2 separate regions of the Homo sapiens genome follow, and region 2 is linked to region 1. The links are contacts of gene promoters, found by promoter capture Hi-C in human tissues and cell types (Jung and others, 2019). All regions are on one chromosome and are shown on one strand. Each heading gives the region's core, a stretch centred on a gene start or on the middle of the fragment in contact. The rest is flanking DNA. Distances are from core to core; before and after follow the strand shown.

What was found. The method cuts DNA at HindIII sites, captures the fragments that hold promoters and counts their contacts. A contact is called where the count stands out against the background at its distance.
Region 2: a fragment that was not itself captured here is called in contact with the fragment with the promoter of RHOA in region 1 in 1 of the 25 tissues and cell types used here (pancreas).

Annotation. Positions count from the first base shown.
Region 1 is chr3:49,408,275-49,414,986 of GRCh38, forward strand. It overlaps RHOA (ras homolog family member A), which reads right to left and starts at 3,702. Exons shown (of 5, transcript NM_001664.4): 1 at 3,546-3,702. TCTA (T cell leukemia translocation altered) reads left to right here and starts at 4,149. Exons shown (of 3, transcript NM_022171.3): 1 at 4,149-4,366; 2 at 4,782-4,836; 3 at 6,546-6,712. The coding sequence starts at 4,153. The coding sequence ends at 6,588. RefSeq lists enhancers at 2,849-3,823, 3,722-4,016, 3,952-4,361 and silencers at 3,142-3,231, 3,242-3,521, 3,582-3,881. The HindIII fragment of the contact is 6,127 bases long and covers 564-6,690 here.
Region 2 is chr3:48,443,633-48,450,344 of GRCh38, forward strand. ATRIP (ATR interacting protein) reads left to right here and starts at 3,105. Exons shown (of 13, transcript NM_130384.3): 1 at 3,105-3,460; 2 at 6,405-6,538. The coding sequence starts at 3,214. ATRIP-TREX1 (ATRIP-TREX1 readthrough) reads left to right here and starts at 3,147. Exons shown (of 15, transcript NR_153405.1): 1 at 3,147-3,460; 2 at 6,405-6,538. TMA7 (translation machinery associated 7 homolog) reads left to right here. Exons shown (of 4, transcript NM_015933.6): 4 at 216-576. The coding sequence ends at 250. It also overlaps a transcript of CCDC51 not described here. RefSeq lists a silencer at 3,050-3,409. The HindIII fragment of the contact is 4,318 bases long and covers 3,304-6,712 here.

The DNA of each region.
Region 1 (6,712 bases), core at 2,452-4,951:
TACGTATACACAAGTATATATACATATACACACACACACATATGCTTAAATATACATACTCATCCTCTTCAAAAAATAAAATCAAGCTAAGTTTGGCATAAACTGCATACTGATTGCAATTTAGCAAGAGTATTTGATGTTTTTCTTTATTATTAGCTATAAAAATGTATTTGGATGAAGCATCAATAAACTGAGACCAACACCCAGAACGAGCAGCTTCAGTGCCTGATTTTCAGTCACATGACTATCGTAATTATGAACATACCAAGGCCTTCACTTAATACTACAGCTCCACAGATTAAAGATGAGGGATTTTATAGTAATTACAAACTTCAAACCGTCTTGGAAATTTTAATCCCACAAATGAGCATGTCCCCAAAGAGCCCCATGTATAGCAAGGCATGTAACATTAAGTTCAAAATTTAGTTATATTAATGTGTAGTTACAAGCAAACAGTTCCATTGGGCAGGTAAACAAAGGAATAAACTAAATGGCAGAGTCAGACAAAATACTTAAGATCCTTTTTTTTTTTTTTTGAGACGGAGTCTCGCTCTGTTGCCCTGGCTGGAGCACAGTGGCGCGATCTCAGCTCACGGCAAGCTCCGCCTCTCGGGTTCACGCCATTCCCCTGCCTCAGCCTCCAGAGCAGCTGGGACTACAGGCGCCCGCCACCACACCCAGCTAATTTTTTTTGTATTTTTAGTAGAGACGGGGTTTCACCGTGTTAGCCAGGATGGTCTCCAGACCTCGTGATCCGCCCGCCTCGGCCTCCCAAAGTGCTGGGATTACAGGCATGAACCACCGCGCCCTGCCAGGATCCTTTTAAAACTACAAATATGGGTGGGCGTGGTGGCTCACCCTTGTAATCCCAGCACTTTGGGAGGCCAAGGCAGGCGGATCACCTGAGGTCAGGAGTTCAAGACCAGCCTGGCCAACACGGTGAAACCCCATCTCTACTAAAAATACAAAAGTTAGCCAGGAATGGTGGTGGGTGCCTGTAGTCCCAGCTACTCCAGGGGCCGAGGCAGGAGAATCACTTGAACCCAGGAGGCAGACGGTGCAGTGAGCTGAGATCGCGCCACTGCACTCCAGCCTGGGCAACAGAGTGAGACTCCATTTCAAAAATAAAAATAAATATAAAACTACAACTATATGGCCAATTTTAAAATCCAGTGACTATGTACTATTTATCATAATCACTAGTAACCACAATGCAATTAAACCCAAGGTGCTGTCTACAGAAGGCCAGCAGCTTCAAATTAGCTCTCTTAGAAGCTGATCAGTCTTTCTTCTCAGAGTTAACATATATCTCTCAGCTCTCTAAGACAATTAAAAAGACGCAAACTAGCACCTTCTCCAGTCACTGCATGGACTCCACCCCATGGACAAGAAACACCTGAAGAGCTACCTGTTTTTACTCTCCTAATAACTTACACCCCCATATGACCAGAATAAACTTTTAAAAAGCAGTTAACTGACAAATGGAAAGAAATCAGGACTACGAAAATACTCCACCACCACCACATGCATGTGCACAGGGAATTGTTTACTTGATACACGCAGTACCCCAAATCAACAGTCAAAAGTGCCCACAGTTAACTAAAAATATCTTAGCCTGACCTAAATATCTTGGTTTTGAAGCAGTAAAGTGTAGGCCTTGCTCTAGAAGTTGGTCCCTTAAAAAAAAATCCAAACAAAGCCATGATTAGGCCAACCAGGGACCCTCGTACATTCATCTATCTCCCTCAATTGAAGGCAGGACCATCCAGTTAACAAGGGGAGAGTGCTGTGTAAGCTAATGAACCGAAATTTTTTGGCAAATGAACAGTTTCTCCCAAACTATTCACCATCAACAAGGTTTAAAAGAAGAAACAATGGAATAAGCTAGAAGTCCTGAATTTTAGCTGACTCTGGAGGCCAACTGCTTGGGAGTAAATGGAGAATACCTTAACAGAGCAGACAGTTCTGGTCTGCTCCTGACTAGATAGGTAACCTTGGGAAATTTACTTAAGTCTCTGGGACTCAGTTTGCTCATCTGCAAATGGGGTTGGACAACCAGTCCTGAAAGATTCCTCTTAGATCTAAAACTCAAGAACTACACAGTATTCCTACTCTCTTCTTCCCTCCAACACAGATTTTTATGAGAACAGAGAGGATAAATCTAGCACTAGACTTTAACTCAAACCAAGGTGCACCTTATATATTTAATGTCCCCAAGAGCCATCAGTGCTCCACAAAAGTAGATGGAACCAATTAAGACAAGTTATCCAGAGATCCTTCAATAAGTCATTCTTTACAATTAAAAACTAGTTTTTCAGTCCAATGTCACTTGTGCCAAATGCTCAAAACAGTATCTCCGCCAATCTAGCCACATCTAAGGTGACAATCATCCGCATGGTACACATTACACATCTGGGTGATACTAAGTGGTTGAAAAATTCTCTCCACATACAACATTTTAAATTATGGAAGTTTTTTGGTTTTTCAATTTTTCTCCTTCAGAAAGGCAGAGTGAAATATCTACTTACACACCTGCAAGAAACGTTTAAGACTTTCTTCAAGACAGAACCAAACAAGTCAACAACAGAGGTAAAAATTTAAAATCAGAACTATTAAAAAACACAAGTGGAACCAACTTTGAGGTAAAAAGGATTCCAATTTTCCACCGTAAACTACTAAACAAGGTTTGTGAACAAATCAACTTGGATGCGAATAGCGCTATTCAATGAAGACGACCCGTAACTGTAGATCCAATCAGTAACTAAGGTACAGATATTTAGATCATTCCTAATCAATACAGCGACTTCGACTAAGCAACATTGCATCTATTTTCATGCAACATCGCTTAAATCATTTACAGTTTTGTGTGTTGTTTTTTTTTTCCAAATGGAAAATACCCCTTTTCCACTCAAAACAGACCCCAAAGCTTTCAGACGAGTTCGGGCGCGTTCCAGGTGGTATGGCCGTAGATCATACCCCTAAGCGTTCAATACAATCTTTTACTTACTTACACAGTCTCCAACAAGTCTGCATTAAAAGAAAACCTACCCAAAGTGTAACTGGACTTTAATCAATATGAAACAGTGATTGTCGTTTCTCGTTAAACGTAAAAAGCAAAATGGAGTTGTAAAGAGTTTCTTTCCCATTTCAACTCCGACAGCCACGCGCGCTTTCAGCGGCCGGCTACACTGCGCGGTCGCGGGGCCCGGCCCAAAGCCCCCGCCCTGCCCGGCGCCGCTGGGAGAGGAAGCTCCGGGGACCGAGGGCGGGCAGGCGGGCAGCCTGGGCTCCACCAGGCCCGGCCGGGCGGGGGAAGGGGCACAGGAGACTACCGGGCGCGCTTCCGGGGACTGCGCGGGCGGGGTCGCCGCTTGGGGCGCGGGGCCCGGGCTGGGAGTCAGGTCAAGGGTCAGGGGCCAGGGGCGGCTCGGCCACGAGCAGCCGGTGGGGCGCGGCCGCGGCGGTGCGGCGGCCTGCCGGCCGGAAGAGTACCGGGCTGGCGGGCCTGGGGCCCCGCGGCGCCTGGAGGGAACCCTTCCGCTCACCTCAGGCAACGAATCCGAGTCCAGCCTCTTCGCGCCGGGGACGCCGGTCCGCGAGTCGCAAACTCGGAGACGAAGGCGGGTAGCTGAAGACCAGACCGTGGACTAACGAGAGAACCGACGGAGGACCGCGGGCGGCGGGAGGGTAGCGCGAGAGAGCGAGGGCGGGCGGCGGCGGGAGGGCGGGGAACGACGTGCGCGCCTCCGAGTGCCCAGCGGGCTCGAGCCGGCACAGGTCGCGGCCCCGCGCACGCGCGCGCACTCACAGCTCATCCACTATTGCTCAGGAGCCCGTCCACGCCCTAAAAGCAAAACCCTTAACCAATCATTGCAGCCGCGTGGGGCATCACGGGAACTCCGGGGCTATAAAAGACCTGGTTGCTATTTTGTACTCCCGGAGTCACTCATCCCTTAAGCAAGCAGGGTGGGGTTAGGTGCGCGTGCGCGGTTTTAATACTCCTCCCCGAACTGCCAACTCTTCACGCACGCGAAGTAGGCCCCACCCTGGCTGGGTTTACGCGTGCGCACTAACGGGCCTGGTCCCGGAAGACCACACGCGTGCGTGGTGGGGACTACGGTGACAGTACCCCGGGTGGGGCGAGGGCCAGTCATGGCGGAGTCCTGGTCTGGGCAGGCCTTGCAGGCTCTGCCGGCCACGGTGCTGGGCGCGCTGGGCAGCGAGTTCTTGCGGGAGTGGGAGGCGCAGGACATGCGCGTGACCCTCTTCAAGCTGCTGCTGCTGTGGTTGGTGTTAAGTCTCCTGGGCATCCAGCTGGCGTGGGGGTTCTACGGGAATACAGTGACCGGGTTGTATCACCGTCCAGGTGAGGCTTCCTACGAACCTCCGTGGGCTGGCCGCCCCCGCCCCCACCCTCTCCCGACTGTACCATTGGGTTCCCCACTATCCTGCAAGAGGCTCATCAGAACTTAACATTGGTTCACGGCCTTACTACCCTGAACGCATCTGACCTCGGAAGCTAAGCCAGGTACTTGGATGGGAGAACTTAACGTTGTGCCCTGACTCATGCCACCATACCATTTTACGCCAGAATCCCCACCAGTCCACCCATCACATTGTATCTGTTCCTCAGAACTCTCACCTGGCAATACCATTAGTCCCTTAGGACCCTCACCAGACTTCACCAAACAATACCAGTGGTCTCTAACCTGACCTGGGCTGATGCCTGCTCAGATTCCCACCCCAGCCTTCTGCAGCTCTGGATGTGTTTCTGCCTCCAGGTCTGGGTGGTCAGAATGGATCCACGCCTGATGGCTCCACGCATTTCCCTTCGTGGTGAGTAAATCTGTCCATACCGCAACCCCATGCTTGGCATTCCAAGGACACTCCTGTGCTGGTGACAGAGAGGGGAGTTCTCAGGCTTTAAGCCCACCAGCTTAATGGCCTTTGCAGCAAGCTTCAAGTCTGCACGTAGAGCTCAGGCTTCAAGTTAGGGTGACACCAAGGTCTGGACAGTCCATCATCATGCTGTTCAGCAGCCTGTAGGATAGGTGGTGGTATTGTCATAATTTCAGAGAGATGAAATGACAGGTTTGTTGGATTCCACTCTGCACAATCCCCTCAGTTGGGAAGGCAGTAATCTCTGTCCTGAGCACATTGACCTCATCAGGGTCAGCCTCCTCTTCTGCAAAACATGCGCTCACTAATCAGGGCATTCATTCAGATAATCTCTGGGCCCCTATCACGTGATAGGGGCCACACGAGGCCCAGAGAACAAAGACAACCCGGGCCCTGCTCATGGGGAGCCAGGGATTTATTAGGGGAGGGCGGCAGTGCATGGGGCAAGGGTGGTCAGGGAAGGCTTCTCCCAAGAAAGACACCTAAGCCGAGATCAAATGCCACAGGGTGACAAAGTGTACCAAGCAAAGGGAATGGATTGAGCAAGGCTAAGAGGGAAGAATACGGGTGACATATTAGAATAGGTAAGACTGTGATGCTGGAGCTTGAACGTGAGAGCTTGTTGGACCCTGGGAGCCATTGAAAGACTAACTCAGCAAGGCTGTGGTCTGATCTAATTTGCCTTTATAAATGCCTACTTCATGGCAAGTAGATAAAGGGGTCCAAGAGTTAGGGCTAGAGGTTAGAAAGGCTGCCACTGCCCAGGTTTCTGTCTTAGAGAAGAGGCCAGGCCCCATGGCTCATGCCTGTAATCCCAGCACTTTGGGAGGCTGAGATGGGCGGATCACTTGAGGTCAGGAGTTTGAGACTAGCCTGGCCAACATAGGGAAACCCCGTCTTTACTAAAAATAGAAAAAATTAGCTGGGCATGGTGGCATACGCCTGTAATCCCAGCTACTCGGGAGGCTGAGGCATGAGAATCACTTGAACCCAGGAGGCAGAGGTTGCAGTGAGCCCAGATCACGCCACTGCACTCCAGACTGGGCATCAGAGTGAGACTCTGTCTCAAAAAAAATAACAGGCCGGGCATGGTGGCTCACGCCTGTTCCTAGCACTTTGGGAGACTGAGGAGGGTAGATCACCTGAGGCCAGGAGTTTGAGACCAGCCTGGCCAACATGGCGAAACCCCGTCTTCACTAAAAATACAAAAACTAGCTGGGTGTGGTGGCGGGCGCCTGTAATCCCAGCTACTTGGGAGGCTGAGGCAGGAAAATTGCTTGAACCCGGGAGGTGGAGGCTGCAGTGAGCTGAGATCTTGCCATTGCACCCCAACCTGGGCAACAAGAGTGAAACTCCGTCTCAAAAAAAGAAAAGTAATAACAATAGTAATAAATAAAAAGAATAAAAAAACTAGAGAAGGATGGCAATGCCGTACTAACATGGAGAACCAGGAAGAAGAATGAGTCTGCAGGGAGAAGGTGCTGGGCCCAGGGTGGGCTGTGGGAGACCAGCAGAGAGGTCTAGATTGTTATGTGACCTTACTGAGCCTAGCTCAGCCCCCAAGAAGGAGCTTGGGAGAGCCAATTTCAGCAACTGTTCTGCCCATGGAATAACCACTCTCTCTTCTCTCTCTCCATCACTTTCAGGGAAATGGCAGCAAACGAACCTCTCAAAACCCACAGAGAATAAGGGAAGGCAGCAGAGGGTCTCCAAGGGCATCACTGGGTCTGCTGGCTTCTACACTGGGTTCTGCTACTCCCCAGACCTCAGGGACAACTGCCGGGGGTTCAGGGTTGGTAGCAGGGAGTACCCA
Region 2 (6,712 bases), core at 4,213-6,712, 960 kb before region 1:
AGACCAGTGCACAGCCAGCCACTGCTTGTACTCCATCTCATCCTCATTTTACCTTTACCTAGAACAGACAGTATCAGTGAAGCTGCTATCCATGCTTGTGTTAAAGTGAATGCCCAATACAAAAGCCAGGCTTTACTAAGGTCCACAGCAGGCCCGTGGGGCTTCTACCGTAAGAACTATATTTTTCCCTAATTGTGACTATTTTTCTTTTGCAGCCACAGGTGGAATTAAGAAATCTGGCAAAAAGTAAGCTGTTCCTTGTGCCTGAGGAGATGGTGACCCTTTATTTCATCTGTATTTAAACCTCTCTATTCCCTGCCATAACATCTTTTGCCACGTATAGCTGGAATTAAGTGTTGTCTTGGAGCTGTTGTACATTTAAGAATAAACTTTTGTAAAAAAAGAAAAATCTTACAGTGGCTCATCATCTCTTTAGTTGTTTTCACTAAGTCGTTCCTACCATAACTGTGAATTTAAAGTAAAACCAGCTCAGAATCTTGCCAGAGTCTGTTCTTTGGTCCTTGTTCTACCCTAAACTTTGTATCACCTGAAATTAAACCAACTCATTTGAAAGGATGGCGTTCTTGTGTGGTTGTATACCTGACAGAATACCTTACATGAGTTTAGTGGAAGAATTTGCACTTTTTTTTGGTGGGGGAGGGGGTGGAGTCTCACTCTCACCCAGGCTGGAGTGCAGTGGCATGATCTCTGCTCAATGCAACCTCCACCTCCCGGGTTCAAACTATTCTCCTGCTTTGGCCTCCCAAGTAGCTGTGGTTACAGGCACCCGCCACCATGCCTAGCTAATTTTTTGTATTTTTAGTAGAGAGGGGTTTCACCATGTTGGCCAGGCTGGTCTCAAACTCCTGACCTCAAGTGATCTGCCTGCTTCAGCCTCCCAAAGTGCTGGGATTACAGGCATGAGCCACTGTGCCTGACCAGAATTTGTGCTTTTAAAAGAAAACCCATCTTTATGTTGTCACATCCAAATTGCCGTATATTTTGATGAGACTTGTTCATCTGTTCATGTAAGGCGTCTGCTATATGCAGGCACTGGGGTATGTAACGGAACAGTTCCTGTTGTCAAGGAACTTCTCTACTGTGGAAGAGGCAGGGCAGGGCAAATTACATGATCCTTCAAGTTGCTAGCAGTGAAGTCCCCATGCGCACCAAACAGGTCCAGGGCAGCAGCTGCGGGAAGCCCCAGCCCACTTGCTGGTGGATGGAGGGGGTGCCAGTGCCAGGCAAGGGGTTGGGGGTGAGGCAAAATGGGGGCTCACTCTACCTCCTGCTGCCCAGGACTGGAGTCCCAGGCATACCTACCGCTTGCCCCTCAATAAATGCAAAGACAGAGACCATCCATAATGTGTGCTGAATATGTTTTAAAATGCTTAGCTGGGTGTGGTGGTGCACTTCTGTAGTCCCAGCCATTTGGGAGGCTGAGGTGGGAGGATCACTTGAGCCCAGGAGTTCGAGGCTGCAGTGAGCCAAGATCACACCACTGCACTCCAGCCTGGGAGACAGAACAAGACCCTGTATTTAAAAAAAAAAAATTAATTCAGAAGCACAAGTATTTGGATTTCCCTCCCAGGCCCTTAATACAATTATGTTAATAATGCTCAGCTTTCTCTGAGAATATTGTCGAAGAGCGCTCTGGAACCATTATGAGACTGCTAAATCAAAACTAGGTTTTAGAATATTGAAAACTTTCATGATTAATGTACTAGATATTAACGCGGGAGAGGGGGCAGGGGGAAGCCTGTGTTGGTCCTCTCCAGAAAGTTGCACAGCCAGTAGCACCCTTCAGTAGGCTTCAGGCATTCCCTGTGGGGCCTTGCTAGCTGGCACCCAGCCGTATGCTGCTAAAACAAACCTGAGCACCAGTGATTCACACTGTTCCTGAAAGCAAGTTACTTGGTGGAACCTATCCCTCTTTAACAAATGAACAGTCCTGTCTCTTTCCAGGACCAGAGTCCTGCAGCAATTAAGCATGCAACACTTGGGAAGCTATCTGACGGAGACTACCAGTTGCTCCAAAAAATTTTAAACTCCTTAGACATTATAGGCCCTGATAGCACTCTCTTTTTCATTTACTCTTTTCATTTAATGCTTTCACAAATATTCCTAGGACACTCACAGGTGAAGTTTGGCACTGAGCAGGTAAGGCTGAAAGAGTCTTGCTCCTGTTACTCTCCATTGCCAAATTCTCTATTGCGGCTAACTTCTGCACACCACAGCTGCCCAATAAAATCTGTCAGGCACGCAAGCCCACCTCAAATTGCTGCTCCTTTGTGAAGCTTTACCTCTGTTCGCCACCGGTAACTCTTACCTGGCCTTTGTGTGGCCTCCCTTTCAATGTAGAATTCTCGTGTTAGTCTTATGTGCCAGCCTCCTACCCCTCTATCCTGCTAACTTGACTCAACTTGTAGGACAGCGCAGGTGCCATTTACAGGGGGACTTCCTTGACCTCCTGAGCCCTATTCTATACAACCAGAGCTTAGGAAAAAAAAACAGTCCAGCACTCAGAGGAATGGATGTTAACAGCCTGAGCAGCTCCCACCCCCTCCCACACAAGAACAGCTCCAAACATCATTCCTCCTTGGACTTTCCTCCTCCCTGGGCCTACCTCAAATGTACACATGTGAAACATTCACTAAACCCGAAGATGTCTGCACACGACAGCTCTATTCATACTCCTCACCCAACAAATTCCACTCTCCTCAAGAAAGCCTAGGGGTTTGTGGGAGGTGGGTCTGGCGGCAGAAGGAAAGCGAGGTCACGGAGACCACATCCCTGAATGATGCCTGGCTCGACTCAAACGCAACACGCGTGAATGCTAGGGCAGGCTGCTCCTGCGCGGCCCTCCTCCACGGAATGCCAGGGAGGGAGCGCAAAGCCACCAGCGCGGCGGAGCTGGTGCGCCTCCGGCCCGCCTCTCCGGTAACGGGTCGCGCCGCACTGAGTCCTTGCAGCAAACCTGCCGAATCCCGCCCGTGGACCTCTAAACACCGGGCGGGGCCGGGTGTGGCGGCGCGCTCGGACGTTCGTCATTCCTCCGCGCCCTCCGCCTGCCAGCTGATTGGCCCCTGGGCCAGGGGCGGGGCACTCGCGGCGGAGGCAAGCGGCGGCGCGCGGACGGTTGGTCCAGTTCTCCGGCCTGGCGGCAGGCAAGTCTAGCTCGGCGCTGTCGGATACTTGGGGTGAGCGGAAAGCATGGCGGGGACCTCCGCGCCAGGCAGCAAGAGGCGGAGCGAGCCCCCGGCGCCTCGCCCCGGCCCGCCGCCGGGCACCGGGCACCCCCCGAGCAAGCGGGCCCGGGGCTTCTCCGCAGCCGCTGCCCCGGACCCTGACGACCCGTTCGGCGCGCATGGGGACTTCACTGCCGACGACCTGGAGGAGCTTGACACCCTCGCGTCACAGGCCCTGAGCCAATGTCCGGCCGCGGCTCGGGACGTGTCCAGTGAGTGCTCCTCGCGGCCTTTTGCTCGGAGGGAGTTGTCAACCGCGCCAGATCCCCTTGATGGCTGTGGCTTCGGAACCTCGCGGCCAGCACTGCCTTTTCGCCTTTTTAAAATATGGGAACACCCTGATTTAAGCAGCGGTTGTCTTCCAGAAGGTCCTTTGATTTTAGGGGGAAATGCATTAGCCAGGTCAAACAGCCGATTTGAAACACAGAAGGCTAAGTTGACATTTTACGTTATTTTCTAAAGTTTAGGCCACTTGGTTCTTGGTTCTAAGCAGAGATCCTTGGAACACACCTACCACCACCATCAGAACCATCACTACCCATGCATGGGGACCCATTCTTGTGACAAGTTTGAGCGGCTTTAGATCTTATGAAGCCCACTGTCTCCCTTGGGCAGTGTGAGCATGGGAGGAGCCAGACACAGGCAAGAGATGAAATAAATTTATTCTTTTATACAACCAGTAAACTGTGCTAGGTGCCCAAACGTGAGGAACTGCAGCTGACCTTACAATGAACAAAATACAAAAACTGTCCTTCATGGAGCTTACATTCTAGTTGAGGAGTGAGTGAAGTCTTGAGGACTCCCAGAAAGAGAAATGTTTTGAGTGCACCTTGCATCTGTACTTGGGTGTCTCAAGGCACCTTAAACTCAACACGATCATTTCCTGGAAACCCAGTCCTCCTCCAGCACTTCTAGCATGGTGCCGGCAAAGCAGACATTCAGAGAATGATGACCAGATGTTCCACAAGGAAGTAACTAGCACGACTCTCCATCCAGTGGCACAAAGCGACTCTTCCCCTTTCCTTGACTCTACATCTAATTTATTTGGAAAGCATGTCAAGCTTACCTTCTTAATCCTTCTCTGGAGTCTATCCTATTCACATTGCTTCTACCAGCTGCCTGATCTGTGTTACCATGAGTCCTCTCTTGAACAATGGTCTGCTAAATTGGTTTCCCATTTCCAGTCTTGACTCCCTACAAGTGAGGCTTCACATCACATTCTGAGTGATCTTTTCAAAACTCAAATCTGGCTGTGTCTTACACAGATATACGTGAACACCCTTTTTTTTTTTTTTTTTTTTGACGGAGTCTCACTCTGTCACCCAGGCTGAAGTGCAGTGATGCCATCTTGGCTCACCACAGCCTCTACCTCCCAGGTTCAAGAGATTCTCTTGCCTCAACCTCCCGAGTAGCCTCAGCCTCCCAAGTAGCTGGGATTACTTGTGCCCGCCACCATGCCTGGCTAATTTTTGTATTTTTAGTAGAGACGGGGTTTCGCCATGTTGGCCAGGCTGGTCTCAAACTGCTGACCTCAGGTGATCCACCCGCCTTGGTCTCCCAAAGTGCTGAGATTACAGGTATGAGCCATCCGCACCCAGCCATGAACACCCCTAATGAAAGCCCTTTAATAATTTCTTATTTCTTCTAGTGTGAAGACCAGAATCCTTAACATGGCCTGAAAGGCCCAGCCTGGTTTGGCCCTTTCTCACTCTCTGGGTCCTGGCTGCACTAACATTCTTTGAATTCTCTCTGCTTCTTTACAATACAGGAACTTTATACATTGTTCTTTCTTTGTACATTGAGTATACTTTTCATTCATTCATTTCCACTCATCTGGTTAATTCCTACTTGTCCTTCAGCTCTCAGCTCCTTCAAGTCTTCCCTAGGGAAATGTTCCAATCATCCCACTTAAGTCAGATTGCTGTCATATTATAGGCTTTCCTATATTTGTTCTCTTCTGCAGTTCTTAATCACAGTTGTAATTTTACATTTATCTGTGTGATTATTTGTTGAATGTCTTTTAAGCTCTGTGAGTGTAAGGAAGTATCAATTTTGCTCACTATTGTACCTGTAGAGCCTAACATGCCTGGCATATTGCATGTGGTCAGTAACTATTACTGAATAATAAGTAGATCATTGAGTTCTGGCCAATGAGATCTCCTCAGGCTTTAGATGAGACTCTTGGAATTGGATGAAGGATAGGGAAAGAATAATAGGATCTGTTGTTTTAGAAGGATCATTTATGAGTTTCAGCCGGGTGTGGTGGCTCACGCCTGTAATCCCAGCACTTTGGGAGGCCAAGGTGGGCTGATCACTTGAGGCGAGGAGTTTGAGACCAGGCTGGCCAATATGGTGAAACCCCGTCTCTACTAAAAATATAAAAATTAGCCGGGCGTGGTAGCACACGCCTGTAATTCCAGCTACCTAGGAGGGTGAGGCACAAGAATCGCTTGAACCTGGGAGGTGGAGGTTGCAGTGAGCCGAGATCACGCCACTGCTCTCCAGCCTGGGCAACAGAGCGAGACTCTGTCTCAAAAAAAAAAAAAAAAAAAAAGAAGGATCATTTATGAGTTTGAACCATGTTCTTAGGTTGAAAAACATCTATATTGCTTACTAGATCTTTCCCTGCTTTGCTCTCAAGAGTAATTCTTCCCAGCACTTTGGGAGGCAAAGGCAGGAGGATTGCTTAAGCCCAGGAGTTCAAGACCAACCTGGGCAACATAAGGAGACCCAATCTCTACAAAGAATTTTAAAATTAGCCAGGCATCCAGGCACAGTGGCTGACGCCTGTAATCCCAACACTTTGGGAGGCTGAGGCGGGTGGATCGCGAGGACAGGAAATCAAGACCAGCCTGGCTAACATGGTGAAACGCCATCTCTACTAAAATCCAAAAAAAAAAAAAAAAAAAAAGCCAGGCATGGTGGCACACACCTGTAGTCCCAGCTACACAGGAGGCTAAGGCAGGAGGATCACTTGAACCCAGGAGGTCAAGGTGGCAGTAAGCAGTGATCACACCACTGCACTCCAACCTGGGTAACAGAGCAAGACCCTATCTCAAAAAAGAAAAAAAAAAAAAAAGTGGGTATTTTCAGCATTTTCTGGCAAAAGTGGGAAAATATTGGGTCCTGAAATGTATATGGAACTATTTTTTACAGGTGATCATAAGGTCCACAGATTATTAGATGGCATGTCAAAAAATCCTTCAGGGAAAAACAGAGAAACTGTTCCAATTAAAGATAATTTCGAATTAGAGGTACTTCAGGCACAATACAAAGAACTTAAAGAAAAGGTAAGTGACTTAACTTGTGGTTTTTGTAGCTAATTCATTCACTTACGTGTTTAAAAGCATTGTACAGTAAAATATACAAAAGTTGTAAAACAAGTGTCTAGATTCATCCCTATGACATGGGAAAAGACTAGGGAAAGAAAACCAGAAAGTTTAGGCTGAAAGAAACTAAATTGT